Linked DNA regions of Homo sapiens: regions 1, 2, 3, 4, 6 and 7 are each linked to region 5. Evidence: promoter capture Hi-C in 16 types of primary human blood cells and fetal thymus (Javierre and others, 2016). All regions are on one chromosome and are shown on one strand. The core of a region is centred on a gene start or on the middle of the fragment in contact, and the rest is flanking DNA. Distances in the headings are between cores, read along the strand shown.

Region 1 (3,782 bases), core at 1,243-3,742, 1.1 Mb before region 5:
CATGCCTTATGCCTGTAGTCCCAGCTACTCCAGAGGCTGAGGCAGGAGAATCGCCTGAACCTGGGAGGCATAGGTTGCAGTGAGCTGAGATCATGCCACTGCACTCCAGCCTGGGTGACAGAGCGAGACTCTGTCTCGAAAAAAAAAAAAATTGTGGAAGGGACCGATTAAAAGTTTAGTGAGTAGAAAAATTTTGCATGCTAAAGTTTTGCTACTAAGTGTTGTCAAGGAGACAGAAGTGTAGCAGAAAGAATATGGAGTCAGACATATTTGTGTTCAAATTCCAGCCCTGTCAGTTATAGTTACGTGTACTTGGGCAAGTTACTTAAACTGCATTCCTCCTCAGTTTCCCATGTGTAAAACGAAGTTCTGTAAGGATTAACACAAATTAAAACCTAGTTCAGTGCCTGGTACACAGTAGGCACTAGATGAACAGTCCCTGTTGCTATTAGAATACCTGGAGTAGGGCCAGGCGTGGTGGCTCACGCCTCTAATCCCAGCCCTTTGGGAGGCCGAGGCAGGAGGATCACTTGCGGTCAGCAGTTCAAGACCAGCCTGGCCAACATGGCGAAACCCCGTCTCTATTAAAAATACAAAAATTAGCCAGGCATGGTGGCATGTGCCTGTAATCCCAGCTACTCGGGAGGATGAGGCAGGAGAATTGCTTGAACCCAGGAGGCGGAGGTTGCAGCGAGCCGAGATTGCACCATTGCACGGCAGCCTGGGCAATAGAACGAGACTCCATCTCTTAAAAAAAAAAAAAAAAAAAAAAGAATACCCTGAGTAAAGAGCGATTTCATTCAGAATCCCTAAGACTCTTGGGTAATGCATTGAATGTCTCCAAAACCCCACAGCAGACAGCCCTTATGCTGTACTAGTCATGCCCAAGCTCCCTCAGGTAACTAAGTTCTCCAGCACTGACAATTTCCTGCTTTTATCATATTCTGAAGGACCTAAATTCCATTCTCCCCCAAAGACATGATTTCACATAGTTCTTATATAGACAAGTGTTTCTCATGTTTTGCTATTCACTTTTCTTTCTTCAGTTTGGACTTTGCCAAACTTGGAATCTGGAAATCATAATTTCTCAATAAGATTTCAAAGCCCAAGTAGGAGACCACAATTTCTCATTCAATTCACTCCTTCAACAATGAAAGCACATACACTCTTTTAGTTCTTCAATGCTGTTTGAGCAGGATGCTGTCCACAGAGAATATTCTGGCCTTTTAGTCTGAGAAGAAAACATAAGGAAAACTAGAAAATGATTCTCAAACTGTTTTGCCTATAACCACTTCAAGTGGGCAAAAGATCCTGCAAACCAAGTACTCTATCTGCACATTCCATCCTTGCATTATGGGCTAAGCACTAGAGAGTAAAGTCCTCTATCATGCATGCTGGAAGAAGCCACTCCTGGGCAATTCTGAAATGTCATGTATTAAAGTAACTACAGACCAGGGTCAGAATCCAAAAGGGTAATCTAGGACAGAAAGGGCAAAAAGCCATTCATATACAAAGTACCTAAACGAGAGTCAATAAATACTGAAATAAACATTCTGGATACTTCAAATCTAAAGGATCCACATAGAATGAAAGCAGTGACTGACAAGGCACCAATCCCAGGGCCAGGCCAGGTTTCAAGGCGAGACAGCACGTAGTATCTGCGAAAACTTAAGCATAAAACATTTCTCTCCTTCAGATGCTGATCCGACACAAGTTAGGAAAGCGCTCGGTCTCAAGGAGACTCCCTTTCTTATTTCTGCTCCCACAAGCCTACTGTCTGCCTTTTCTGGAATCTACCTTCCCTTTAATTCAAGGCTTTGCTTTACTCCATTATCCCAGGGAGACCTCATTAGAAAGCAGCCGGCCTTCCTGCCCTCCCTCTTCAGACTTCTCACAACCTAGTTTAGTTATGGAGCTCAGCGATATATCGCCTTGGCTTTCCATCCCCCAGCCCTCTTCCATCCTCCCTCCCTTCCTTCAGTCGCTACAGCCGTGATTCCTATCTCCTTGAATTCCTCACTCTAATCTTTTTCCATCCACCCCACCCTATCCAGCCATGCTTCACTTCCTCATGGGTAGCTTTCCTGCATCCCCGTCCGATGTCTCCCTCAGGAGTTTTCTGCATCCTCCGGCCACAACTGAATCGGCAGACCTCGTTCCAAGCCTATTATACCCCTAACCCCCAAATGACCCCTAAGGCGTCTTCCCCGCCGTTAGTTGCCCCCGCGGTAGCCTCCCTCCCCCCTCCCGCTCGCGCCGCCCGGTCCTCCCTCAGCTGTCTCCCTCACCCCGTGACTCACCCGCATGCGAACCTCATAGGTGGTGAAGCGCGCGCGTCCCACGCCCACCGTCTGAGGATTAAAGATGTCGATCTCCAGGAAGTTACTTGGCGGCCCGTAAGCGTCGGTCAGGTCCTGCGGCTTCGAGTTAAGGCGCCGGGTATCAGCTACTGCCGTGTCCGACATCTTTCCGAAGGAGAGCCTGGGACCGGGGAAAGGGGGTGGGGGACAGAGGCCTGAGGCAGGAGCGCGCACGGCCCCTCCCGCTTGCAAAATAACTAGCCAACCCACAGGCGGCGGCGGCGCGCACGCGCGCCCACGCACGCACGCGCACGCCGCACGGGCCTGGGCCCCGGGCTCTGAATAGCGGCCGTGCTGACTGCTGCGCGCCCTGTAGAGTGGAGGCCATATTCAGGCTTCCGGGTGATGTTTGTGGCCACCCGGGAACCTGCATCCCCAATACGCAGTACCCAATACCCTGCCTAGCAGCACAGGCTGGCTCCGCCAATCGCGGCTCCTCAACCCAAGAAATTGTCTCGTACCGTGTATCAATCAACAGTGGGCACTGCCCCGTGAGCCAGGCTCCTACAGTGATAGGCCGAAGCCCAGTGACCTGAATAAGTCCTGGTTTTCCGCGAAAATAGAAGGGTGGTCTATGGAGGGTGGGGTTCCAACAATAGTACTGAGAACCTATAACGTAGCCGTCCCACCTGTGCCACTGATGGTTTCAGTTCACGCCACACACAATGGCGCACTCAGCACTACGTATGGCGCCAGGAAAGCAGCAAGCAACTAGGATGGGGTAAAGAAAGACATTTCTCTCTTACTTTTCAGGAAAATTGGGCATATCTTACTCCTTGTTGCCACACTCCAGGTGTACTCAATCTTACATTTATCAGCAAATTGAGGGTACTTATTTCATACCTTCTATTTCTACTCCGCAGAACTCCATACTTGGCACTGCTCTGAGGTTGCTTGCAACCCATAATGGAGATAGAATAAATGTTTACATGAGAATATCTATAGAAATATTAATATTTATATGACTAATTTACATATGCTCCACATTAAAGGGTAGACTGGGTGATGATTTCAGGTCATCCTTTCTCCACCTTTCCCCTGCCCTCCTCTACTCAAAAAATATTTCCCATATCACTGATGCCTGAAATTCTTTCAACAGAGTATGAGGCCCTACAATTTCACAATTGCTGTTTAATTCAATTTAACCAATATCCACTAAGCAAATACGTGCCAAGCACCATGCTAAACACTAAAATCCTGGAGTTAAATAAGAGTCCCTGCCCTCAAGGAGTTAACATTCTAGCAAGGGAGACAAGTAAACAAAACTAATATAATGCGACAAATACAAAATAAGTAAATGTTCAAAGCAGCACATAGGAAATGTATAACTGGAAAAATTAGGGGAGGTTCCCCTGGAGGAGGAAACATCTGAGTTTAACAGACATGAAAAGACATAAAGGACAAATAGGAGTGGAAATAGGG
Region 2 (4,185 bases), core at 1,447-3,946, 1.0 Mb after region 5:
TACCAGGCATACATAGAAAGTATCTCCTTATTTAGATTTCCTTATAATAGTAAGTTGTCTGTTTCCCCATATCCTGTCAACTATTGCAACCACAGGGAAAAGCAGGGAACATCTACCCCGTCTTTGGGAGAAAGATTTAACATTAGAGGAGAGTCCTGTACAGACAGGAAAAGGAAAGAAAAAGCTCATAATTTCTTCCTCAGTTGATTGTAGAGAGGTATGAAACAGAAATATGAAAAGTTGGCACTGCTATAAACTTACCTGTCTGGGTCAAGATCTGAAGGAGGAGGCATGTTTAATAGTGGAAGAATAAGTCACAGACAGAACTTCTGCTCCACTTTTGGTTTATATTTGTGCAAGATCACATCCATCCAACCACCTGGGATGGAAGAGTGGATAGGCAGCAATAAAGAGACAGAGTTAGCATTTCCTAGTCACTCTCAGTTCCCACGTGGCATGGAGGGGACCAAGAAGTTCTCTCTTGTACTAGAGGTATGAATGTGACCTTTTCAGAGTCTGCCAAAGGGAGAAGCAAAGCCTGTTTCCACATGCAAGAAAGGCAAAGTCAGCTCTGGGACAAGGGTCTGATCAACCACATCCCATTTTCCTGAATCAGGGCACTGCACTCCAAGCCCAGCCACAATTAGTAATGCAATCCCATATATATCCAGATGACACTGTGGAAGGGTAGGCAAGAAATATGAAATACAAACTAACACACAGGAACCTGTTATTTCAAAAGGGTGCTTAAATTATTAAATAGCACTGAGATTACTGGATTGATTAGAATTGAGAATTTTGTTTCCCTGCAACCTTGTGTAGTGAAAGTAGACTTGAGATTATGAACAGATCAATTATAAACACTAAGAAAGGTATACTTTCTTTGCACATTTTAGTATAGTCTTAGTAAATCTGCATGCGTGTATAAACATATAGAAATATAATTGTAGAAAATAAATCAAAACATTAACAGTGCTTATTTTGGGGTAGGTGGGTGGTATATGGATTTTGTGTTTAATTAATGAATTTTTTCAGTATTGCCCAAATGTCCCCCAATGAACATATTACTTTTATAACAAGAAATACATTAAGTTTTAAACATGAGACACTCTGAAATTTTTATTCTTTTTATTTTGCAGTGAAAGAACACGAAATATCTTTTCAAAATGGTAAAGTGATCACTTTCAATGAATGATGTAATAGGAAAAGAGAATTAAACACTGTAATTATGGCTTACACAATTACACAGAACAATATGTGCAAACTTTTGAAAATACTGTGACTAACACTTCACCGACAAACAATAACCTCAATATAACTAAGTTTCATTATTTATCACAGTTACATAAAATACAAGAGCCTATGAACAAGCTGTTATTAACAATAAATGTAGTTTTGCCTGAAATTCTTATCTATATGCAGGCCTCTTAAGCATCCAAGTTTTAAATTCTACTGCATTGTTATTGCAAAATGAAGCAGGCACAACAAAATTAAATCCACTAGCTAAAGGACTAAGTAAACAAAAATAGAAAAAGAAAAACAACAACAGCGAAAACCCTTGGGTTGTTTCCCAAGATTTTTTTTCCAAACAAATATTGATCTCACTTAGCATTTCTGATCATTTCATAGCCACAGATTAATAGCTACATGACAAAAAGACTTCAGAAGGATTAAGCTACACAACACTATACTAGTGTTTTAAATCATTTACCACAGTGTACATTTCTTGAAAACATTCTACTACTAAAACTCAAGGTCAAATTAATTAGTTTTTGAACTTTTCTTATATTTTTGAAACATATGTTTTAACTAACACTACAAGAAAAATACAGAACACAAGGCTTCTTATACCTTGAGTAACTATATCTAGGGCAGTTAATTTCAGGGCCATGTATACTCTGCTCTAACGATCAATGTCTTCTACTAATGCCTCAAGGTTTTTGCAACAAGCTTTAACTTCCTCAATTGCAGCCATCCAATTATCATAAATAATTTTGTCATAAATTGCATCATTAACTTCTCTAACTACCCCCTCCTGCTGAGATTCCAGTGCATCACCTGAGAAAAATAATACTGATCTTGGAATTATGTAAGTACGTAAATTGTGACCAAGTAAAAAATCATCATTTCCATCCCTTCCATTTGAGGTGATTCCATGAGGAGAGAAAAAATTGAAAAATGAATCCTTGGGAAAATCTTCAGTTACAGTTCGGATTGTTCCCCAGATCCGATGTTTCTGTTTCTTCTTGATGGTTTTCAAAGTGACATTCTTTCCTTCATTCCAATCTATCTCACAGCCTGTGGAATACTCAATCGCAGTTCCCCTATAGGGATGGGGATCATAATATGCTAGCTTTGACTTCAGCACATAGGTCTTTGTCAACAACTCATTTTTGAAATATTCATTGGGTTTGAAGTGAAATTCTAGTGTGAAACTGAGGGGCTCGCCAGGATCTGAAAGCTTAACTTTAATATCTGTCAGGAGCTTCAGAATAGGCTCATCATATTTCTTAATCAAAGGAGTGAGTGTATCAACGTTTTTTAAAACAGTTAGCCAAAAATCAGGAATTCCCTTAGGATCCTCCTCTTCTTTATTCTCTTCTCCAGTAGCCTCAATGTCGTCCTCCTCCTCCTCCTCCTCCTCCTCTTCCACAGCATAATCATAATAATAGTCCTCATAACCATCGTCCTCATCCACATATTCATGTACCATACCCTCCTCATTACCATACATCTCTTCATGACACATTTCCTCATCATCACAGTCCTCAGAGTCTGATTTATATTCACATTCCTCTTCTGTAGGTTCATAGATTGCATTGATGATCTGACGTCTTTTTTCCAGTAAGGGTTGGTACATTTCAGCAAACTTTCTTTCAATGTCATGAAATTCCCTCAGGAATTTGGATTCTAAATTGGCCGCTCTAGTTTGAAGCTTTTTAAGGGCTAACACACGGTACTTAACTTTCACAGGTAGACTTTCAACAAAGTCTGTATCTAAAACATAACCGATAAGTCCTTTTGGACGGTCTGCCTCTGAGTCCTCATCAGTATCGCCACCTTTTTTCCCATCTTCCCCGGACCCAGCAGCAGTATCTTCACCGTTTTCCCCTTCTTCCCCAAGCCCAGCGGCAGCTTCTTCACCGCACTTCCCATCGTCTCCAAGCCCAGCAGCGGCATCTTCACCGCGCTCCAGATGTTCCCCGAGCCCTTCCACCATTATCTGATTACCAGCCTCTTCTTGACTGGATTCTGACAGCTCCTTGCGGTTCTCTGACTCGGCCATTTTTCAAAGGACCGTACACGCCTAAGGTGGCTACCACAGAGATCGGGAGACCAAACCTCCACAGGAAAAGACTCACCGAAATATCAGAAGCGGCGGTGGTCGGACCTAGCAGTGGCGTCCGGACTGAGGGAACGACGATCCAGGCTGCTCGGGGATAAAAGATGGTGCTGAGGCTTTGAGAACCGGACTGAAGCAGTGGCGACCTGGGCTGGGTGCAGAGGGCGGCGACGGCTGCGTTGACCGATCCTGCAGGAGAGAGCCGGAGACTGCAGAGAGCTGCAGTGGGCAGACCTCCTCCGCAAGCAGCTACTGCTGCAAGAAAAAAACGGTGCCGCAGTATGATTACGCAGCTATCACTTGCCTAAAATTTCTAGGTGCAAATAGATTGCTGCGTCACCTCCTTCCCTCCCACAACTATGCTCTAATCTCATTTGCTGCAATGTAGTGACTGACAAACCCAGAGCCAGTAAATTATTAGATCTATCAAGTTTTCAACTCTGCTCACCTTCCCAGGCTCTCTAACATGGCTGATTCATCCACCTCCTCCTCGTCCTCTAGCCCATCTCCCGCAGAGTTTTCTGGAATCCCATTGCGTTCATTAGTTCATTCATCCAACTTTTAACAGATATTATACTTTTATGCTTTCCAGAGAGCTCAGAGAAAACGTAACTAAAATGTCGAACAATGAGAGAAGACAAGGCACCCACCCATCCTAAATCAATCTCTTTGATTTTAGATCGGGGACCTGGGGAGGGGAGAGGTGGATGGTGGAAGAGCTGATAAACAAACGCTTCAAAGATTAAAAACACCAGGAATTAGCACTGATGGTCTTTAGGTGGCGTGTCAGTTATTTAAATATTCTATATTATGTTTGTCGGTATTTTTCACAAGCTATATGA
Region 3 (3,657 bases), core at 338-2,837, 1.8 Mb after region 5:
TAGATACTGTGTTCCAGTGCTGTTGATGTTGTACTGTTTTAGCAATGAAGAGATTGATATGGGCTGATTGGGGGTTAGGGAAAGTGAAGCAGCAGAACCAGAACAGAGTGGACATTTAAAGGGTGCTAATAAGTAAATAATTATGTGAAGTAGCATACTGGTCGAAATGCATAACTCAAAGATAATCGGGAAGCGTATTTTCTTTTCTTTTCTTTTTTTTTTTTGAGATGGAGTCTCGCTCTGTCGCCCAGGCTGGAGTGCAGTGGCACGATCTTGGTTCACTGTAAGCTCCGCCTCCCAGGTTCACGCCATTCTCCTGCCTCAGCCTCCCAAGTAGCTGGGACTACAGGCGCCTGCCACCATGCCCAGCTAATTTTTTTGTATTTTTAGTAGAGACGGGGTTTTACCGTGTTAGCCAGGATGGTCTCGACCTCCTGACCTCGTGATCTGCCCGCCTCGGCCTCCCAAAGTGCTGGGATTACAGGCTTGAGCCACCGCGCCCGGCCGGGAAGCATGTTTTCTGAAACATAACCTAAGAAAGTATAAATGCTGCCTTGTGCCTACAATCCTGGTGACAAGAGCAAGACTTCGTCTCAAAAAAAAAAAAAAGTATAAAAGCTCCTTAAAGGATGTTTCAAAATAATGAATAATATTAATTTCTATATTGTATATTCACAAATGTTCTTTCTAGAATAATTATTTGCTTAATGGGGTGCATGTTTAGTTGGTGAGAAATGAATTAATAGGTTAGTGATTTATTATCTGTTGGGAAAAATTTTAGACATTCACATGAAAGTAGAGAGAATAACATAAATGAATTTCCATATATGGATCACTTAGATTTAGCAACCGTTATGATTTTGCCTTACTTGCCTTTTCCCCCAAAATACTGTAAAGTAAATTACAGTTATCATGACATTTTCTTCTAAATAAGTCAATATAAACATATAATAAACAAGGACCTTTTTCTATATAGTCACAATGCCATCACTATACATAGTAGGATTAACAGTAATTCCGTAATTTTTTTTTTGTTTTTGAGATGAAGTCTTGCTCTTGTCACCCAGGCTGGAGTGCAATGGTGTGATCTCGGCTCACTGCAACCTCGACCTCCCGGGTTCAAGTGATTCTCCTGCCTCAGCCTCCCGAGTAGCTGGGATTACAGGGGCCTGCCACCATGCCCGGCTAATTTTTGTATTTTTGGTAGAGATGGGGTTTCACCATGTTAGCCAGGCTGGTCTGGAACTCCTAATCTCAGGTGATCCGTCTGCCTCGGCCTCCCAAAGTGCTGGGATTACAGGCGTGAGCCACCGCGCCCGGCCATTCCTTAATGTTTAACACCCAGTGCATATTCAGATTTTCCCAGTTGTCCGCAGGATGTCTTTTATAGCTGCTTTCTTCAAACCAGGATCTATTCGGAGACCACACATTGCATTTGATTTTTATGTCTTTTGAGCCTTTTAAAATTTAGAGCAGTTCCCTATAACCCCTTCTTTTGTTTGTTTTATGAAATTGGCTTGTTGAACTTCACAAAACACGAGTTGGGGTCATGCCAACTGTACCGTTAGTGATTAGTTTACATATAGGGAAAATAATTTGTGAATGTTGGTCCATTCACTCTGCCAGCTATACCATGGCAGCATTTCCAGTATCAGGAAAGCAAACCAGGGGATCTAAAACTGAGCATTAAAAACTCTCCCCTATCCAGTGAAAGAGATAAGAATGCCAGTTGTGAGAAAATTGAAGGGGAAACGGAGAATGTCAGTGTTAAAGATATTTGAACTTTTTTTTTTTATCCATTTGAAAGGTATTTTTTTTGGGTGAACTATTTGTTAATATTCTTGGTCCTGTAAAAAAAAAATTGGTGTTTGGACTTTTTCTTATTGTAGACACTCTTCATAAATTAAGGAAATTCGCCTTTTTTTGTTATAATATTGCAGACTTTTTTTTTTTTTGAGATGGAGTCTTGCTCTGTCGCCAGGCTGGAGTGCAGTGGCACGATCTTGGCTCACTGCAACCTCCGCCTCCCAGGTTCAAGCGATTCTCCTGCCTCAGCCTCCCGCGTAGCTGGGACTACAGGCGTGTGGCACCATGCCCAGCTAATTTTTGTATTTTTAGTAGAGATGGGGTTTTACCATGTTGGCCAGGATGGTCTCGATCTCTTGACCTTTTGATCCGCCCGCCTTGGCCTCCGAAAGTGGTGGGATTACAGGCATGAGCCACTGCACCCGGCCTGCAGATATTTTTTTCAGTTAGCTACTTTTCTTTTCACTTTATAGTATTTTTTTACTTAATTGTGGCACAATACACATTAGTGTTTTAGCCATTTTAAAGTATACAATTTAGTGGCATTTCATACATTCACAGTGTTGTGCATCCATCACTGCTGTCTAGTTCCAACAGATTTTAATCACTTCTAAAAGAAACCCTGTACTCATTCCCTTTGCCCTCTATCCCATGGCTACTAATTTGCTTTCTGTTTATGGATTTGCCTGTTCTGAATATTGTATACAAGTGGGATCATATATAGTAGACCCTTGAGGAATGGGGGGGTTAGGGTCACCAACCCCTCATACAGTCAAATCTGCATAAAATTTTTAATTCCACCAAAACTTAACTAATAGCCTACTGTTGACTGGAAGCCTTACCAATAACATAGTCAATTAACACATACTTTCTATGGTAATTTATTATCTACTATATTCTTGCAATTAGCTAGAGAAGAAAATGTTATTAAAAATCAGAAGGAAGAGAGAGTATATTTACGATTCATTAAATGTAAGTGGATCATCATGAAGGTCTTCATCCTTTTTGTCTTCATGTTGAGTAGGCTGAGGAAGAGGAGGGGTTGGTCTTGCTGTCTAGGGAGTGGTAGAGGTGGAAAAGATGGAGGAGGCAGGAGAGGCAGACATACCTGGTGTAACTTTTACTGAAAAAAAATACATAAAAGTGGACCCACGCAGTTCAAAACCATGTTCAGGGGTCAACTGTAATATGTGATCTCTTGTGTCTGACTTCTTTCATTTAGCATAACATCTTCAACATTCATCCATACTGTAGCATATAATTTGTACTTAATTCCTTTTTATGATTGAATAATCTATATATGAATGTACCACCTTTTGTTCATCAGTTGATGAATGTATTTACATGCATTTAAATAAAATTTTTTTTTTTGGGTTTTTTTTTTGAGACGGATTCTCACCCAGGCTGGAGTGCAGTGGCACGATCTCGGCTCACTGCGACCTCCGCCTCCCAGGTTCAAGCGATTCTTCTGCCTCAGCCTCCCGAGTAGCTGGGATTACAGGCACACGCCACCATGCCCGGCTAATTTTTTTTGTATTTTTAGTAGAGACGGGGTTTTACCATGTTGGTCAGGCTGGTCTGGAACTCCTGACCTCGTGATCCGCCCTCCTCGGCCTCGCAAAGTGCTGGGATTATAGTCGTTAGCCACCGCACACAGCCAAGAAAATGTATTTAAAGAAAATATGGGGCTGGGCATGGTGGCTCACACCTATACTTCCAGCAGTGTAGGAGGCCGAGGCCGGCAGAACGGTTAAGCCCAGGAGTTCGAGACTAACCTGGGCAGCATGATGAAACCCCATCTCTCCAAAAAATACAAAAATTAGCTGGGTATAATGGCCTGCACCTGTAGTC
Region 4 (3,328 bases), core at 788-3,287, 1.1 Mb before region 5:
CATTCTCCATCACACAGCTATATACTGTACCCTTCATGTTCTTCCCTCCCCCATCTCACTTCTTACCAAGCAGCCAAGGCTCCGGATTCTTGAGGAGAGGCACAAAAGCTCTGTAAGCATTCTCCAGCCTGGTTCCTGTGAACATAGCCATGTGCTATCTCCAGCCCCTGTCATCCAGTCTCCACCCTTCAGAAGTCCAAGATTCCAGGACCTAACACTAAAGACTACCCGCCAGATGCGGTGGCTCACGCCTGTAATCCCAGCATTTTGGGAGGCCAAGGTGGGCGGATCACTTGAGGTCAGGAGTTCCAGACTAGCCTGGCCAATTCGAGACTAGCCTGGCCAATTTGGTGAAACCCCATCTCTACCAAAAATACAAACAAACAAAAAAAATTAGCTGGGCATGGTGGTGGGCGCCTGTAATCCCAGCTACTCCGGAGGCTGAGGCAGGAGAATCACTTGAACCCAGGAGGCAGAGGTTGCAGTGAGCCAAGATCATGCCACTGTTTCAGCCTGGGTGACAGAGCAAGACTCCATCACAAAAAATAAAATAAATAAATAAATAAAAATAAAGACTACCTTGCCGGGCACAGTGGCTCACGCCTGTAATCCCAGCACTTTGGGAGGCTGAGGTGGGTGGATCACCTGAGGTCAGGAGTTCAAGACCAGCTTGGCCAACATGGTGAAACCCCATCTGCACTAAAAAATTAGTTGGGCCTGGTGGCGGGTGCCTGTAGTCCCAGCTACTCAGGAGGCTAAGACAGGAGAATCGCTTGAACCTGGGAGGCAGAGGTTGCAGTGAGCTGAGATCGCGCCATTGCACTCCAGCCTGGACAACTGGACAACAAGAGCGAAACTCTGTCCCAAAAAAAAAAAAAAAAAAACCTACCTTGAGCTGGTGGATATTTCTTCCCCTTAGGTATGGACCTAGGGGAGAGTATGTGTGAGGTAACCTATTATTATAGAGGCAGTACCCTTCCTTAGGCTGACTAGAGATGGTCAATTTGGATCTGGTTGAGGGTGTTCTGTTGTTTGAGGGTGTTCTGTTTTTTGTTTTAATTTGGTTTTGGTTGTTTTTGGTTTTGGTTTTGGTTTTGGAGGCAGGCTCTTGTTATGTTGCCCAGGCTGGTCTCAAACTCCTGCCCTCTATCGATTCTCCCGCCTTGGCCTCTCAAAGTGCTGAGATTACAAGCATGAGCCACTATGCCCAGCCTTGGATGCCTTGTTTTAAAGATAAGGTTCATAATCTATCTTGAAGGCCTTATTCTATTTCTGGGGAACACTCCTGAGCCTCTACCTGGTGGCCCACGTTCCACCTTACAAACGTAGTAGGTGCTTCGAGCTGTAAGGTATTTGCTGGCATACTCTGCATGATTGGGCTTCATCAGGAAAAGCATCTTCATTTTCCCCGTTTGTTCACACAAATCGATGGTGTCTGGAGGGAGATCACAGGGTAATTGGGGCAGCTAAGGAAAGAGAGTGGGAGCAAAAGGGGCCAGTGATCCTATACAAAATGGGTTGGAGGAAGCTCTAAGGATATGAGGAACTCCCTTCTTGCCAGGAGGAGGGCTTGGGGGTTAGAGATGACCCAACTCCTTCTGACCTTTGGCCATTAGTCCCCTCCCTAAGCTCCTCACTTGTTTTAGGCAACTTTACTTTACTGCGGATGTAATACAGCAACACGACGACAGCACAGTTGGTATTGACCAGAAACTGCTGATTATCTGAGAAGAGATAGGATGGGACACATGGGCCCATTTCTGTGATCTCCACTGCCCTCAGATCCCTCCACCCCCATCCACAGACTCTAGTTCTGTGCTGCCCCTCACCTCCATGTTTGATGAAGATGAACATGCCCTCAAGATCGCCTCACTCTTCACAAAGTGCCCTGATGAGTCATGCAGAAGGAGGGTGTTCTAGAGGCCTTGTGTGGGGCAAATAGGCCTATAGGGTTGGTGGACTAGAGAGGCAGATGGATTTCATAGGCTGAGGATGCCCAGGCTGGACAGGCAGGAGAGAGCTGTTGATAGTTGTGGATAACCAGTATCCCCAGGGGTGGGGCCTGAGACTGCAGTTAAGGGATTATGAGGTCAGAAGTGGCAGGTGTGGCCAAAAAGTGGAGTAAGGGTAAGGAGAGAAAAACTTGGGTGGGGTATGTTAAAGATTAGTTGGAAAGGGGGGACAACATGGTAAGTCTAACTTTTTTTATTTTTTTTATTTTTTTAGATGGAGTCTCCCTCTGTCGCCCAGGCTGGAGTGCAGTGGCACAATCTTGGCTCACTGCATCCTCTACCTCCTGGGTTCAAGCGATTCTCCTGCCTCAGCCTCCCAAGTAGCTGGAATTACAGGAGCACACCATCACGCCTGGCTAATTTTTGTATTTTTAGTAGAGACGGGGTTTCACCATGTTGGCCAGGCTGGTCTCGATCTCCTGACCTCGTGATCCACCCGCTTTGGCCTCCCAAAGTGCTGGGATTACAGGCGTGAGCCACCACGCCCAGCCCATTGTAAGTCTAACTCTAAACTAAACCCTGGAATGAGTGCAGGGCACCTGGAAAAAAGTCAGTTTCCAGAACAGTACTCTTTCTAGCAAATTGGTAATACTCCTGCCTCCACAGCATGAATGTACTACTCCTTTTTCTTCCCCTCCCACCCTCATTGCATCCCAGGCTTCCCCTGCTCCCCACCCCCATGACAGACATTTTTGATGATTATCAACAGAAACTTTATTTCTCATCGGTTCAGGAACAATCGGAGGGTAGATGGAAAGAGGAAGGGAGGGAAAGAGGGAGGGAGGAAGAATCCTGCGAAAAGGAAGGGCCAGACTGAGGGAGAAGAAAAACATGTTCGGGGCAAAAGGGTAATTCTCAAGTGGGGAATGCCAAATGAAGGGGTGCTTACATGGGGGCACAAAATTCCAAATCAGCCACAGTGGGGTGAGGTGAGTATGAGACGCAGGTGGGTTGAATGAAGGAAAGTTAGTACCACTTAGGGCTACAGGACCCTGGGGTTCTTCTGTCAGAGGATTGGGGTTCAGGTTTCAGGCTTTAGGGTGTAACATGGGGGGGCCCAGTAGGGGCTATGCTGGTTGCATGGGGAGGCCCCAGGCCCCTCCCCAAGGGCCCCTCCTTTTGGGGGAATCTCACTGACGAGGCAGAGTCGTTCACTGTAGTCTGGCTGCAGACTCTCAGCCAGTCCCTTAGACACACCACTCCAGGCCTAAAGACAGATATGTCCAGGTCAGGGGTCAATTAGGGGCAGGAAGTAAAAGACCGAGCTCTGTGCCAAAGGAGTACTCATGATGTCTGCAACCACTGTAATTGATTAC
Region 5 (4,167 bases), core at 1,289-3,788:
GGAGGTGGGGGGGTCAGCCCCCCGCCCGGCCGGCCGCCCCGTCCGGGAGGTGAGGGGCGCCTCTGCCCGGCCGCCCCTACTGGGAAGTGAGGAGCCCCTCTGCCTGGCCAGCCGCCCCGTCCGGGAGGATGGTGGGGGGGTCAGCCCCCCGCCCGGCCAGCCGCCCCATCCGGGAGGTGAGGGGCGCTTCTGCCCGGCCGCCCCTACTGGGAAGTGAGGAGCCCCTCTGCCCGGCCACGACCCCGTATGGGAGATGTGCCCAGCGGCTCATTGGGGATGGGCCATGATGACAATGGCGGTTTTGTGGAATAGAAAGGCGGGAAGGGTGGGGAAAAAATTGAGAAATCAGATGGTTGCCGGGTCTGTGTGGATAGAAGTAGACATGGGAGACTTTTCATTTTGTTCTGTACTAAGAAAAATTCTTCTGCCTTGGGATCCTGTTGATCTGTGACCTTATCCCCAACCCTGTGCTCTCTGAAACATGTGCTGTGTCCACTCAGGGTTAAATGGATTAAGGGCGGTGCAAGATGTGCTTTGTTAAACAGATGCTTGAAGGCAGCATGCTCGTTAAGAGTCATCACCACTCCCTAATCTTAAGTACCCAGGGACACAAACACTGCGGAAGGCCGCAGGGTCCTCTGCCTAGGAAAACCAGAGACCTTTGTTCACTTGTTTATCTGCTGACCTTCCCTCCACTATTGTCCTATGACCCTGCCAAATCCCCCTCTGCGAGAAACACCCAAGAATGATCAATAAAAAAAAAAAATAAAAAATAAAAAATAAAAAAAAAAAAAAAAGAAAGAAAAATCAAAAGTAAATGTTCCTCTTGGGCCTCTTGGCCATAGATAACCTGATGAACACAAGGCTACGCTGTCATCGTCAACACCCAATCCCAACTCCCCCGCCCCTCCATCTCGCAGCCGAACTTGGAGAATTAGTACAGGTGCGGGATCCACTTCAGAAGTGGCAGAGCAATGATCCCCTCACCACTAGATGTGTCCTCCGCAGTTGATCACTCCCAATCCGAAAACAAGGAGTGCCCAAAATGTGTCCAGAATTTAAAGCAGCCAAACATAAGAGGGCTCCATGTTATGTCTTGAGTAGGGAATGAGCACAGTCTCAGAAACACCTGATTCCCTGGTATGAGCATGAAGCATCTCCAGGTCCAGCAAGGCTGCATCCAAAAACTAAACTCTGAGCTGGAAGACCTCTATATTCTGGCTGGTAGTGGCAAGCTAGGACAGCTCTCTCATGGACTGGAGGAAACGCCCTGACATATCATATACAAATTATTGATGGTGGGAGGGATTGTAAGGGGAGAAAAAGTGTGTGGGCACAAATTCAAAAATCATTTATCTTAGGCAAACATTATTAATATGAGCAAGCCATCATTTTATGTGCTTTACAGATATGAACTTGTTTAATTCTCTTAACACCTGATAGGATAATAGTAGGTACTATTATCATCAACTCCATTTCACAGATGATGAAACTGAGCCAAAGAGAGGTGAAGTAACTTCCTCAAGGTCATGGAGCTAGTAGACAGATGTGGAGCAGGGATTTGAAACTGGGCAATCTGGCTCCAGAATCCATGCTTTTACTACACTATGCTGCACCATTATGGAAATTTTGGAAAATACACAGAAACAAACACGATGACCTGTATGCACTAGCACCACTGGCCACATCTTGCTCTATAGCTTTCCTCTCCTTTATATTCATATAACATACAATACATTACATATACTTCTTTTACAAGGAATCATATTCTTTATCTTGGTCTTAAAAACATTTCCCCTATCTGTACACACAGCCTTACAATCGTTATTTTGAATGTTGTATAATATCTTCTTGTGTGGCTAAAACATTATTTAAGCAGTACCCGACTGAGGAGCACTCAGACTGCTTCCAATGTTTCTCCATGACTGAGCTCTGCAAGACGCAAAAAGGTGACAGGCTTTTTTAAAAACTACCTTTTGAACCTAATTAGCTACAACTGCAGAATAAAATTAACAAACGAAAAACTGCCAGGGAGGGCAGCCCTGTGTGTAGGAGGAGACAGCGGAAGTTGGCCGCCACCACAGTACTCCTGCTTCCCTTTGTCTGGCGGCCCCGCGGGATTGGCCAGAGCTGGCGCCGAGGGACTGCAGAGCCACCCACCCCCGTGGCTCCTACTGCGCACGCGTGAAAAAAGCCAGGTTGAGGGGAACGGGGGAGCTTCGGGCGTAGAGTGTGGGGAGTGGGGGATCTGGTGCAAATTAGGGTGCGTGAAAGAAGTCACAAAAAGCGCAGAGGCCAGGCTTCCCGCCCTAATCCGGCCTTTGTCTCCGCCCCTCTGCCTTTGTTTCGGCCCAAGCGTCTTATTGGTCAGACATCTTCAGCCCCATTGGTCCAAGAGCCAAAGGACGGGGTCTGCCCCAAGCTGTGCCTGCTTCCGGAGCCGCAATAAGAACGGTCAATTGAGATGCGGCTTTCAGGCATTTGTTTAGGACATGCCCATGGCGGGGCTTCTAAAGGGGCTTGTACGGCAACTGGAGCGGTTCAGCGTTCAACAACAAGCTTCCAAGATGCCGCCCAAAGGAAAAAGTGGTTCTGGAAAAGCGGGGAAAGGTAGAGCGGCCAGAGCGATCAAGGAGAATGGGGGCGGGTGAGGAGCGAAGGGAGGGAACAGACAGTCCATCTCCGGAGTCCGGGACGGACGCAGCAGGTAGCCAGTGGCCCCACAGTGCTGCCATCGATTACATCTGTAGGAATACATTGGGCTACGGTTCAGGGACCGTCCTAGTGGGTAATGGAATCTGATGGGGATAGTTCCTCGGAGGCGATGACTTAGGGCTGCTATTTCAAGGGGTTATTAGAGCTCTAAAATTGGGTCTTATCAAAAGCCAGCAATAGGAAGTACACATTGGTTATGGTCCTTAAAGTTCACTTTAATGCTTACAGAATGACATGCCCACCATCGGGGAAGGAATCATTCATCCATTGAACAGAAATGTGTCAGGCAGAGTGCTAAGCGCTGAGGATACACAAATAAGACAGAAGGCTGGGCGCGGTGGCTCACGCCTATAATCCCAGCACTTTGGGAGGCCGAGGGAGGATGGATCACGAGGTCAGGAGTTCGAGACCAGCTTGGCCAACATGGCGAAACCCCGTCTCTACTAAAAATACAAAAATTCGCCAGGCGTGGTGGTGGTGCGCGCCCGTAATCCCAGCTACTCGGGAGGCTGAGGCAGGAGAATCGCTTGAACTCGGGAGGCAGAGGTTGCAATGAACCGAGATCGCGCCACTGCACTCCAGCCTGGGCGACAGAGCGAGCCTCTGTCTCAAAAAAAAAAAAGAGATTTTGGCCTTAAGGAGCTCCCGAAGTAGTGAGGAAGATAAAGGCTTAGTGATCATAAAGCACTGTACTAAATGTAGTGTTGAGGGATGTGTATGGGATATAATAGAAATTGAGGGAAGTCCTTCATTTAGCTGGGGAACAGGGAACGGAAGACTTCCTGGAGATGAATTAGGCAGGTCAAGATGTGCATTGAGGGTAGGTTAAAGCATTCCTTACTTGGGGTCCAGCAGCAAAAGCACTGAGGTGAGAAACAGCATGATGTGTGCAGCGTAGTGTTGCTGGAGCAAAAACTCAAGGCAGAATGGCAAGTGGTGAGAATGAAAACAGAAACAAAGACGAGATCATGGAGAGTGCTATATATTCTGCTAAGAAGGACAGTTAAGGATCAGAAAGACCTGTAAGGAGATTGTTGTGGTAGTCTTGGTGAGAGATGATGGTGGACTGACCTAAGGGAGTGGCTGTGGGAACTGAGAAAAGAGAAAAGATTCTGTAAATATTAGGATGTGAAATAGTCAAGACTTGGTGATTTATTGGGTTGGGGAGGGGTGGTGAGGGAGGATCAACGATCATTCTGTTTTCTGGATTGGATTTCTAACCTGTTGCTGGTCCTGCAGGGTAACATCAAGGATACATGAGGAGCGGGGATGAGATTGATGAATTCACTTTCAGATAGATTGGCTTTGAGGTGTCTGTGGGACATCTCAGTGGAGATGTAGTCAGGAAGTGGTTGGATATTTGAGTCTAAAGTTTGAGGGAGAGGTCTAGACTGTACATGTAAGTTTTAGGAGTCGCTAACTTATAGATGGTAGTTGAGCCCATTAGAGTGT
Region 6 (3,978 bases), core at 245-2,744, 1.4 Mb after region 5:
AAAATGGGCTTTTCATTTTAATAACACATACTCCTTGATGATAATGGTTTGATTCATTTCTCTTACAGAACTAATTTCTTCCTACTTCACACACATTAAATGCTTTGTTTATACTGATAATGTCGTGCTCATCCTAAATTAAAGTTTGACTATGTCTGTTTCCCCAGAGACACACCATCTGATTGGGATGCAGCCGTAGAGTAGCAGAAAGAGCAGTGAAGCTGGTATTAGAATGCCTGGATTACAGTGTTTGTTCTGTTACTTAGCAGCTGTGTGACTTTACTGTCTTAATGATATGGATTTTTGTGCTGCTGCCAAGTATGAAACAGTTTGGCACACTATTTAGATACGCAAAATATGTGATCCCCACAACATTTTAGTGAGTGTAAAGAAGATAGGATAGACCATTTAAAATGGAAAATTTTGAACAAAAGGTCACCATAGACTTGAATAAATTACTTAAACTTCTGAGACCCACTTTTGTCATGTAATAAAATAGATATAATGATACTTACCTCTCAGGATTAAGGGTTAACTGAAATATTGTATGTGAGGGTCTAGCTCAGTGTCTGGAAAATGGATGATGTTAATTAAGGTTTCCTTAGGTTGGAATGCTCCTTTCACCCCCTCCATCCGCCCCCTCCCCCAAAAAACACTCCAAAATTCAAACATGCATATTCTGATTCATCTTTTAAGGAAGAGCCCAAGAGGCACCATTCTACAAAATCTTTCCAAACAACTTCAGGCAGTACAGCCCTTTGGTTAAGAGTACTGGGCTTCTGGAATCAGAAGAGACCACCAAATTTAAAACCAGGTCTCCCATTTAGTAGCTCCCTGACACTGGACAAATTACTTATTTTCTCTGCACCTAGATTTCCCATCTGTAATATAAAATCATCATGATACATACCTCATAGGGTTGCAGAGGATTAAATGAGATATACATACAGAGCACTTAGCACAGTCCCTGAGTTAATAAGTCCTCCGTTAAGTATTACATAGGAGAAGTAGTAAAAAGTTTCCTCTTAAGTAAAATGCTAATAAAAGTGCTTACCCTGCCTCCCAAGATTGTGGCAAAGTTATGACGCAAGGCTTTTAAACTGTAATGCTGAACAAACGTAAGGGATTGGTATATACCTTGAGATATTTTGGACAAAGTTCTAACCTTACTTTTATACAATATGCTTTCTCTCACCCGCCTGCAGTTGGGTTAATAATGCCCAGCATTAATTAATAAGCAATAAAATCAGAAGATACCCCGAATACAAGTAGCTGACGCTCAGAGAGCAGTATTAAGGCGAGCACCCGCAGACCGGACCTGGATAACTCCTTGGAGTTCACCTCTAGCGGCCCCCTCCCCTTGGAGCTGCGCAAGCGTACACTGACTTTGCTCCTCTCTAGTGCCCCCGCCTCCAGCAGCCGCCCCCCCACCCCCCCGTCTGCCCAACACGCAGGCGCGTCTCCTCAAATCCTGTCCCTACACCCCTCCTCTTTCTCTTCATTTCGTTCCCCCTCCTCTTGCAGCACCTCGGCAGGTTCAAACTCTTCTCCGGGAGCGTGGCGGCGATCGCGAGGTCACGTGATGAGCATCCTGCTGCCCAACATGGCGGAGTTCGACACCATCTCGGAACTGGAGGAGGAGGAGGAAGAAGAAGCGGCAACGTCGTCGTCGTCGCCGTCGTCGTCGTCGTCGGTATCTGGGCCCGACGATGACGAGGAGGATGAGGAGGAAGAGGAGGAAGAGGAGGAGGAGGAAGAAGAGGAGGAGGAGGAAGAGGAGGAGGAAGCGCCGCCCCCGCCTCGGGTAGTGAGCGAGGAGCATCTGCGGAGATATGCTCCCGACCCTGTATTAGTGCGGGGTGCCGGCCACATCACTGTGTAAGCGAGAGGGGGTCTTGGGACTTGAAATGCCTGAGATTTGGCAACAGAGGAATGAGAAGTGATCGAGGGGCCTGTGGAGTGGGGGAGGGTTGACTGATTGACTGAGGCGTACACTTAGGAAAGGACACCTGGTCTAAATGGGGAAACCATGGGTGGATACGTGTGAAGGAAGTGAGGAGAATGTAAATATGATGCACCAATGCCAGGTAAAGAGTGAGTATAGGAGAGGGAAGTTAGGGGTTTGGGAGCCAGAGCGATTGGAGTAGGGGTGAGTCTCCTTTCTTGTATGTATGCTGGCAAGTGAACAGTCTCTAAACTGCAGGATGTACCAGAGGGTTTTTTGCTGACAAGATTGATACTTTGTGGGAAACAGCAATTGCTGTGACATGTGACAAGAACTAGGCTTGCATTCTTCAAAACAGAAACATGATATATTTTGTGAATAATAATAGAATGTTCATTCACCCACGTATTCATCCATCCATTCTTCCTATCGAATCCTTCCTTATATATCACTCGATTAGAGGTTCAGGATGAGAGGCAGCTATGGAAAGTAGAAAAAGAAATGGATTGAGTCAGGGCTCTTAGACGCTGGTCCCGGTTTTGCTTCTTACTGGCCCTGTGACCTTGGTCAGGTTGCTTTTTCTCATTTCTGCGCCTTGATTTCTTCATCTCTAAAATGAAGGGTTTGGAGTAGATGGTTTCTAAAGCTTTTCAGTTCTGAGATAATTTACCTCCAAGGGATTTTGTATGCCCAAGTATGAAATATACAGGCATTAAATATATATGGAAATTAATACTTTGGGAGCTGAGCATAATTTCTTTAAAATTTATCCAGGGTGGTTTTTTAAAAAATTGAAATCTTGAGGAAAAATTGAATATTTCAGAAAATAAAATGGGGAGGGACTTCATAACAGCTACAAGGCAAAAATGTTGATGATTCTCCGGGATTTAAAGAGTGCTTCCTCATTTTTATTTGCTTGGACCATAACTATTTGGAAGTTTGAGTACTGTGTCATGTTCATCCTCTGAACTATGCTATCTTTTACTGCATTTTCAAAATAGGTTGCCTTTTGTTGTTATGTCATGCTGCCTCTGGTTTTGATAATGGCTCACCTAGTCCCTTTGACTTTCAATTGAGTTCATGTTACATTAAATCATATATATGCTACCTCCCTTATATTAGCTTCAATTTTTAACATGTTGAGTTTTTTTTTTTTTTTTTTTTTTTGAGACAGAGTCTCACTCTTTTGCCCAGGCTGGAGTGCAGTGGCGCAATCTTGGCTCACTGCAGCCTCTGCCTCCCAGGTTCAAGCAATTCTCCTGCCTCAGCCTCCTGAGTAGCTGGGACTACAGGCGTGATATGTTGAGTATTTTAATTGTAATATACTTTCGTAATCTTTGCATCAAATATATTAACAAATATTTTGAAATTGGGGAAGTGTTGGGGGAGGGTTTTAGAGCTGCTTTTTGATTAGGAAATTTTAAGACAATTTTTCTTGGTCCAAGAATTTTGCAGATAGCCTACAATATTCAGATGCCAACTTATTGCACGGTTTTACTTCCATTCCTTTTGTCACTAGGGAGACAATTTATTACTCAAACTAATTATGATGGCTGGTACCAAAGGTTACTTTTATGCAGATTATGTTACATGACCGTTTAGTCCATAATTTTATACTCCAACATTCCACCTCCACATTTGCAAAATTCAGGCAAAGGAGAAGGAACAAGAAAATAAAATTTAAGTTACCTGAAATTTATTTATGGTTCCATTCGACCCTGCACAGGTACTTACCAACCTATTTGCTTCATTAGAAGAACACTGACACTTGCCATGCCCAGGCCCTTCTGATTGGTATAATGTCCTTCTAATTAGGAGCATGCGGGTAGTACTGTTGGTATTCATTGACTGAAACCAAAACCTGAAAAGAAGCAAACCAGTACTAGACTCACTAACCATTGTATATACTTTGGAAACTTATTTAGTTTTGTTGTACACATTCTTATACCTAGAAATCACATATGATATTAAATGTCTTGGGATTTGAAAGAGATTACATGTCTTGGAGAAAATTTAACTGGATCTGAGAAATG
Region 7 (3,943 bases), core at 145-2,644, 1.7 Mb before region 5:
TGGGAAGCTTTTCTCCCCACAGAAGATTTGTTAAGAAGAGAGGGAAAACTGGTAAGAACTTTCTCCCCTCACCTCATGTTTCTCCTCCTGTAGCTTTCCCCTTGCTTAACTCCCTAGATGACCCACCCTCCCCCTCCTCCCCAGGCTTAGAAACAGCAGTGCTGCTGACAAGGATCAACAATTTCATGATGGAGTGAATGCCCTGCCCTGCTTCCCCACCCAAGCCAGTCTACATTGCCCAAACAGCAAGGGTTGGAGAGTGGCTTAAGTGGAATGCTTCAGGGGTGGTGGGTTGCAAGTGGGGGGAGCTTTGCCAACAGGAGGTTTTGAACCATGAGGGCCCTCTGCCCAGGTGATGGGCATTCCCTAAGCTGCTATGGAATCTGCTCCCTTTGGGGTTTTGACCTGAGATGTTTGGGAAGAGAGTGAGTAATGAGAAGTTTCTCCTCAAATGAAACTAGAACAGAGGAAGTAAAAGGGAGATTGCTCGGATAATGTCTCAGACTTGTGTGCACGTGTTCTTGCATAGAAGGCACAGGGTGTGTCGGGGTGGGATAGCTTGGAAGAGGGACTGAAGGAGATAACGAAATGGTCTTTTCCGGAGAACTGTAAGATGATAGAGACACCATCGCCACTCCACGATGTACTGTCTTCCTCGACCCTTGCAGCTTAGCTGTTTTCCTGCCTAGAGGCTAGGAGCTGAAGAGCCCGTCTAGCCGTGTAATTCTGTGCTTACAGGTGGCTTTTTGCTGTGCGCAGCCTTTTCTTCAAGGCAGGTTGGTTCCTGTATCTTGTCTTAATCTGTTACTCAACGAATGTAATCTCCATTTGGTCACAGCCTAATCTTTTCGGCCCAGGGGCTGGGGAAAGGAGGCACCTTCCATCTACGGTTGGATGGGACACGACCTTGAGGGGCCATCAGGGGGAGATGGGAGGAGGTGGGTTGGAGGTGGGAGGAGAATCACCTGCGGCAATGAAGGACTCGCGGGAGGCTCGCGGGAGGCCCGCAGGAGAGCAGCCACCTCGGGGGCGTCCGGAGGCCGGGCGCGCGGTGCAGGGTTGCACTGTAGCTCCACCTTGTGGCCGCCCCAAGAGGAGGGCCGCATCCGTCGTCGCCGTGACGTATTTGCTGAATGCCACCTGTTTTCCGTGCCGCTTGGGGACTCGTGTCCTTGACTCAGGACTCCGAGGGCAAGGTCCGATTTCCACAAGTTTTCGCTCCTCTGGGCTGCGCGCAGGGTCCAATTTCCGGCCCAGCCTTCCCTTGGAGGAGCAAGTTCCCCAATGTGTTTGCGGCTCGGGAGTCCCTGGGCTCCGCAGCTAAGGTGGCCAGTGCGGAGCTGACGGAGGATGAAGAGTCTAGTAGAAGAAGGGAGGGGCTAAGCCAAAAATGGGGACAAGAGGGGCTCTGTGGTGACCCCACAGTCTTCCGCCACACCCACATTCGACCTAGTTCGTATCTCCACACGGAGGGAAGTAGAACTAAGGAGTCGGCCAGGTAGGGAGGTCGGGTTCTCGGTTCCTCCTCTCTCGCCAGACTGGGACCTGGGGCAGCACTGGCATCCTCGGGACAAGACCCGCCCCCCACCCTCGGTTGCCGGGCAGCCGCGGGAACTACAATTCCCAGTGAGTCCCCGGCCATTTCCGGTATCTGGCTGGACGCAGGCGAGTTTGAATCCGTGTTCCCGCCCCCTTCTCCCGGGCCCACCCCTTTCCTTTCTGGCCGCCCCGCCCTCTCCGTGCGCATCCCTGCACACTCCGGCTCCGGAGGCCGGCCGCGCCCACGTACCTGACCTGCAGCTGGCGCGGTGGGCGGGGGTGCCAGCATGCGACGCACGGGGAGGCTGGAGGCGCGCGGAGAGCGAACGCCGCAATCCGGTCCTGGTCCTGGTCTTCCTGGGAGTCCACGCCGCTGTGTACCGGGCAGGTCTCTCCTACACTCTGCCTTTTCGAGCAGCATTTCCTTACTTTTCCTGGTTCCCGATCCATCCCCTCTCTTTCAGGCTGGCTACCAGCCTTAGCTCTAGGGCCCCCAGTCTGCCCGGTACTGCCGGGCTGTCACCTCTCAGCACGTACCTCCTCCCCCATCCCTACTTTTCTGTCCCTTCCCAATCGCCCAGTCTCTTCCTCCCCTCACCTCCCAACCTCACCCTGAAGACCTCCAGCAACTCCATCCCTGCAGCCCCAACCTCTCAGCTCTCACACTCTCAGCTGCGGCCCTCTAAACCCAGCGTCTGGCCCCCCAACCCAGCGCCAGCCTCTGACCCCTTTCTCCTAGCCCCTAGCCTTGGGTACGCAGCCTTGAGCCTGCCACCGGAAATCCTCACTCTCTTCCCAGGAGAACTGGACAGCTAAAGCGGTTTAACCTATAGGCCCTGGGCCCTGGGCTGGAGACTGACACTGACAAAAACTTAAGGGCGGAGGACCCGGGGGAGCTGCTCATTGGGGTTCGGATGTAGTTGCTCTTCGTTATTTTTAGCTGCTGACTCACAGCTCCTGGCATCCGGGTTTGGGGCTAGCAGGCTGGGCTAGGGGGCTATTAATAGAGCAGGAGCACAGCCCCGACCCAGTTCAGTTTGGAAACACAGAGAGCAAGAAGCGTCCCCTGCCACTATGCCCTGTGGAGATGTGGACTGAGCAGTGGCTGGGCCAGATGCTGTCTGGATGCTAGTTACCTCACCCTGGTATCTCTACCTTGGAACTCTTGAGGGAAACCCCACGAGGAGACTCCTGGGCACAGCTCTCCCCTAAGCTCGCCATGGCTTGGGGCTCTGCCACAATCAAGCTTCTGTTGTACTAGCCGAGAAGGCAGAGATGCGTCCCAAGTGGAAAGATTGTTTTGGTCATGGCCTTGGCCTGCCTGGACCCACTCCTGGGCCAGAATGCTAGGTTACTAGAAGGAAAAGCTATGGATTTCTGGTCCCCCACAGCCTTCATAAGGATGGAGTGCTTCAGCATGGTCCTAACACAGGGGGCACAGAGCTGGGGATCCCCAAACCAGACACAGAGCTCAGAAGCTGCCAGATTCTGTGCTTATCACACCCCCAACCCCGCCATTCTTTTTATTTCTTTCCATTTTGTTGAGCTCTGTCCCAACTCACAGGGATTTACAGACCTCATGATCTCTCCCTTGTCTGGAGAGAAACCGTATTCATGAAAGCCACTGCTTGTCCCCAATGAGGTATGAATGATCCTTTATATATTGTCATTCCCATTGACCTTTTTATTTTAATGGGCTAACGTAAGAGTTTCCTAATGTATACATTGGGAATCGTGAGGAAATCTTGATGGACTGATCAAAATTATTCCCACGCAAGCTCAATTTTCTAGAATTCCCATTGACTAAGGGTGCACACCCACAACAATGCTCCTCCCCTCCTTGCAAATCAGAAACTTCCACCTTCATCGACCCGAGTCTCCAGCCCCCAGATGAAACCACATTTGGGGCAAGAGTGATCGTTTCACCACGCACAATATGGAGGTCACTCAGTGAAGCTCTATTTTCAAGAATGAGCCCAGCTTATCAGACAGACAGCAGCAGACCGCGCGGTCCCAACCCCGTCTACTTGCTGAAGGAGCCGGAGTGGCGGTGGAAGGGGAGATAAATGGTCTCTCTGCTTGAAAATCCGTTCCTGAAGTCCTCCATCGCCTGGTTGCCTAGCAACCAGAGCTGCTTGCAGCGGTGTGGGGCGCTTTTGGTCCGTAGGGGGCGACTGTCTCCCTGGGGTCTCAGGCTGGAGCCCTAGCAGTTGGGAGGGAGGTTCCCTAGTTAAGTGTCACAGTGTCTCAGTGTGGCTGACCTCCTCCCAGCCTTGTCAACCCAGTCCGGTCTGAGCGGCAGGGAGCCTATGGAATGAGGAGAAGCCCACTATGAGTCTGAAGGGATTTTGCTCACAATCATTAAAAATGAAGAGAGAGAGGGTGGGAGGAAGGGAGGAAGGAA

The links. The method cuts DNA at HindIII sites, captures the fragments that hold promoters and counts their contacts. A CHiCAGO score of 5 or more calls a contact.
Region 1: the fragment with the promoter of SNX12 here is called in contact with the fragment with the promoter of PIN4 in region 5 in 2 of 17 cell types (non-activated CD4 T cells and total CD8 T cells); the score reaches 5.6 in non-activated CD4 T cells.
Region 2: a contact is called between a fragment that was not itself captured here and the fragment with the promoter of PIN4 in region 5, in 1 of 17 cell types (naive CD8 T cells). The highest score is 6.6, in naive CD8 T cells.
Region 3: a contact is called between a fragment that was not itself captured here and the fragment with the promoter of PIN4 in region 5, in 2 of 17 cell types (total B cells and monocytes). The highest score is 7.5, in total B cells.
Region 4: a contact is called between the fragment with the promoter of CXorf65 here and the fragment with the promoter of PIN4 in region 5, in 1 of 17 cell types (total CD8 T cells). The highest score is 5.4, in total CD8 T cells.
Region 6: the fragment with the promoter of CHIC1 here is called in contact with the fragment with the promoter of PIN4 in region 5 in 4 of 17 cell types (fetal thymus, total B cells, naive CD8 T cells and 1 more); the score reaches 12.5 in fetal thymus.
Region 7: a contact is called between a fragment that was not itself captured here and the fragment with the promoter of PIN4 in region 5, in 2 of 17 cell types (fetal thymus and total B cells). The highest score is 6.9, in fetal thymus.

The regions. Positions count from the first base shown.
Region 1 is chrX:71,065,842-71,069,623 of GRCh38, forward strand. It overlaps SNX12 (sorting nexin 12), which reads right to left and starts at 2,493. Exons shown (of 4, transcript NM_013346.4): 1 at 2,301-2,493. The coding sequence starts at 2,465. RefSeq lists silencers at 2,456-2,649, 2,489-2,708. The HindIII fragment of the contact is 9,631 bases long and covers 1-3,782 here.
Region 2 is chrX:73,211,207-73,215,391 of GRCh38, forward strand. NAP1L2 (nucleosome assembly protein 1 like 2) reads right to left here and starts at 3,645. Exons shown (of 1, transcript NM_021963.4): 1 at 1,093-3,645. The coding sequence starts at 3,286. The coding sequence ends at 1,904. The HindIII fragment of the contact is 474 bases long and covers 2,460-2,933 here.
Region 3 is chrX:73,947,948-73,951,604 of GRCh38, forward strand. All of the region lies in intron 2 of JPX (JPX transcript, XIST activator), which reads left to right. Among named protein-coding and RNA genes, the nearest start is that of JPX, 5.5 kb to the left of the region's middle. The HindIII fragment of the contact is 9,783 bases long and covers 1-3,657 here.
Region 4 is chrX:71,104,703-71,108,030 of GRCh38, forward strand. CXorf65 (chromosome X open reading frame 65) reads right to left here and starts at 2,038. Exons shown (of 6, transcript NM_001025265.3): 1 at 1,830-2,038; 2 at 1,638-1,724; 3 at 1,298-1,435; 4 at 67-135. The coding sequence starts at 1,854. It overlaps IL2RG (interleukin 2 receptor subunit gamma), which reads right to left. Exons shown (of 8, transcript NM_000206.3): 8 at 2,702-3,219. The coding sequence ends at 3,034. The HindIII fragment of the contact is 6,290 bases long and covers 1-3,328 here.
Region 5 is chrX:72,179,219-72,183,385 of GRCh38, forward strand. PIN4 (peptidylprolyl cis/trans isomerase, NIMA-interacting 4) reads left to right here and starts at 2,539. Exons shown (of 4, transcript NM_006223.4): 1 at 2,539-2,610. The coding sequence starts at 2,568. RefSeq lists an enhancer at 2,579-2,798. The HindIII fragment of the contact is 4,711 bases long and covers 1-2,557 here.
Region 6 is chrX:73,561,703-73,565,680 of GRCh38, forward strand. CHIC1 (cysteine rich hydrophobic domain 1) reads left to right here and starts at 1,495. Exons shown (of 6, transcript NM_001039840.4): 1 at 1,495-1,878. The coding sequence starts at 1,583. It also overlaps the pseudogene MAP2K4P1. RefSeq lists a silencer at 1,415-1,474. The HindIII fragment of the contact is 6,151 bases long and covers 1-2,589 here.
Region 7 is chrX:70,432,890-70,436,832 of GRCh38, forward strand. It overlaps GDPD2 (glycerophosphodiester phosphodiesterase domain containing 2), which reads left to right. Exons shown (of 16, transcript NM_017711.4): 15 at 23-51; 16 at 145-492. The coding sequence ends at 197. LOC105373244 (a long non-coding RNA gene) reads right to left here and starts at 2,404. Exons shown (of 3, transcript NR_171576.1): 1 at 1,790-2,404; 2 at 966-1,359. RefSeq lists enhancers at 1,353-1,462, 2,323-2,422, 2,443-2,522, 2,510-3,010 and a silencer at 1,613-1,862. The HindIII fragment of the contact is 2,778 bases long and covers 6-2,783 here.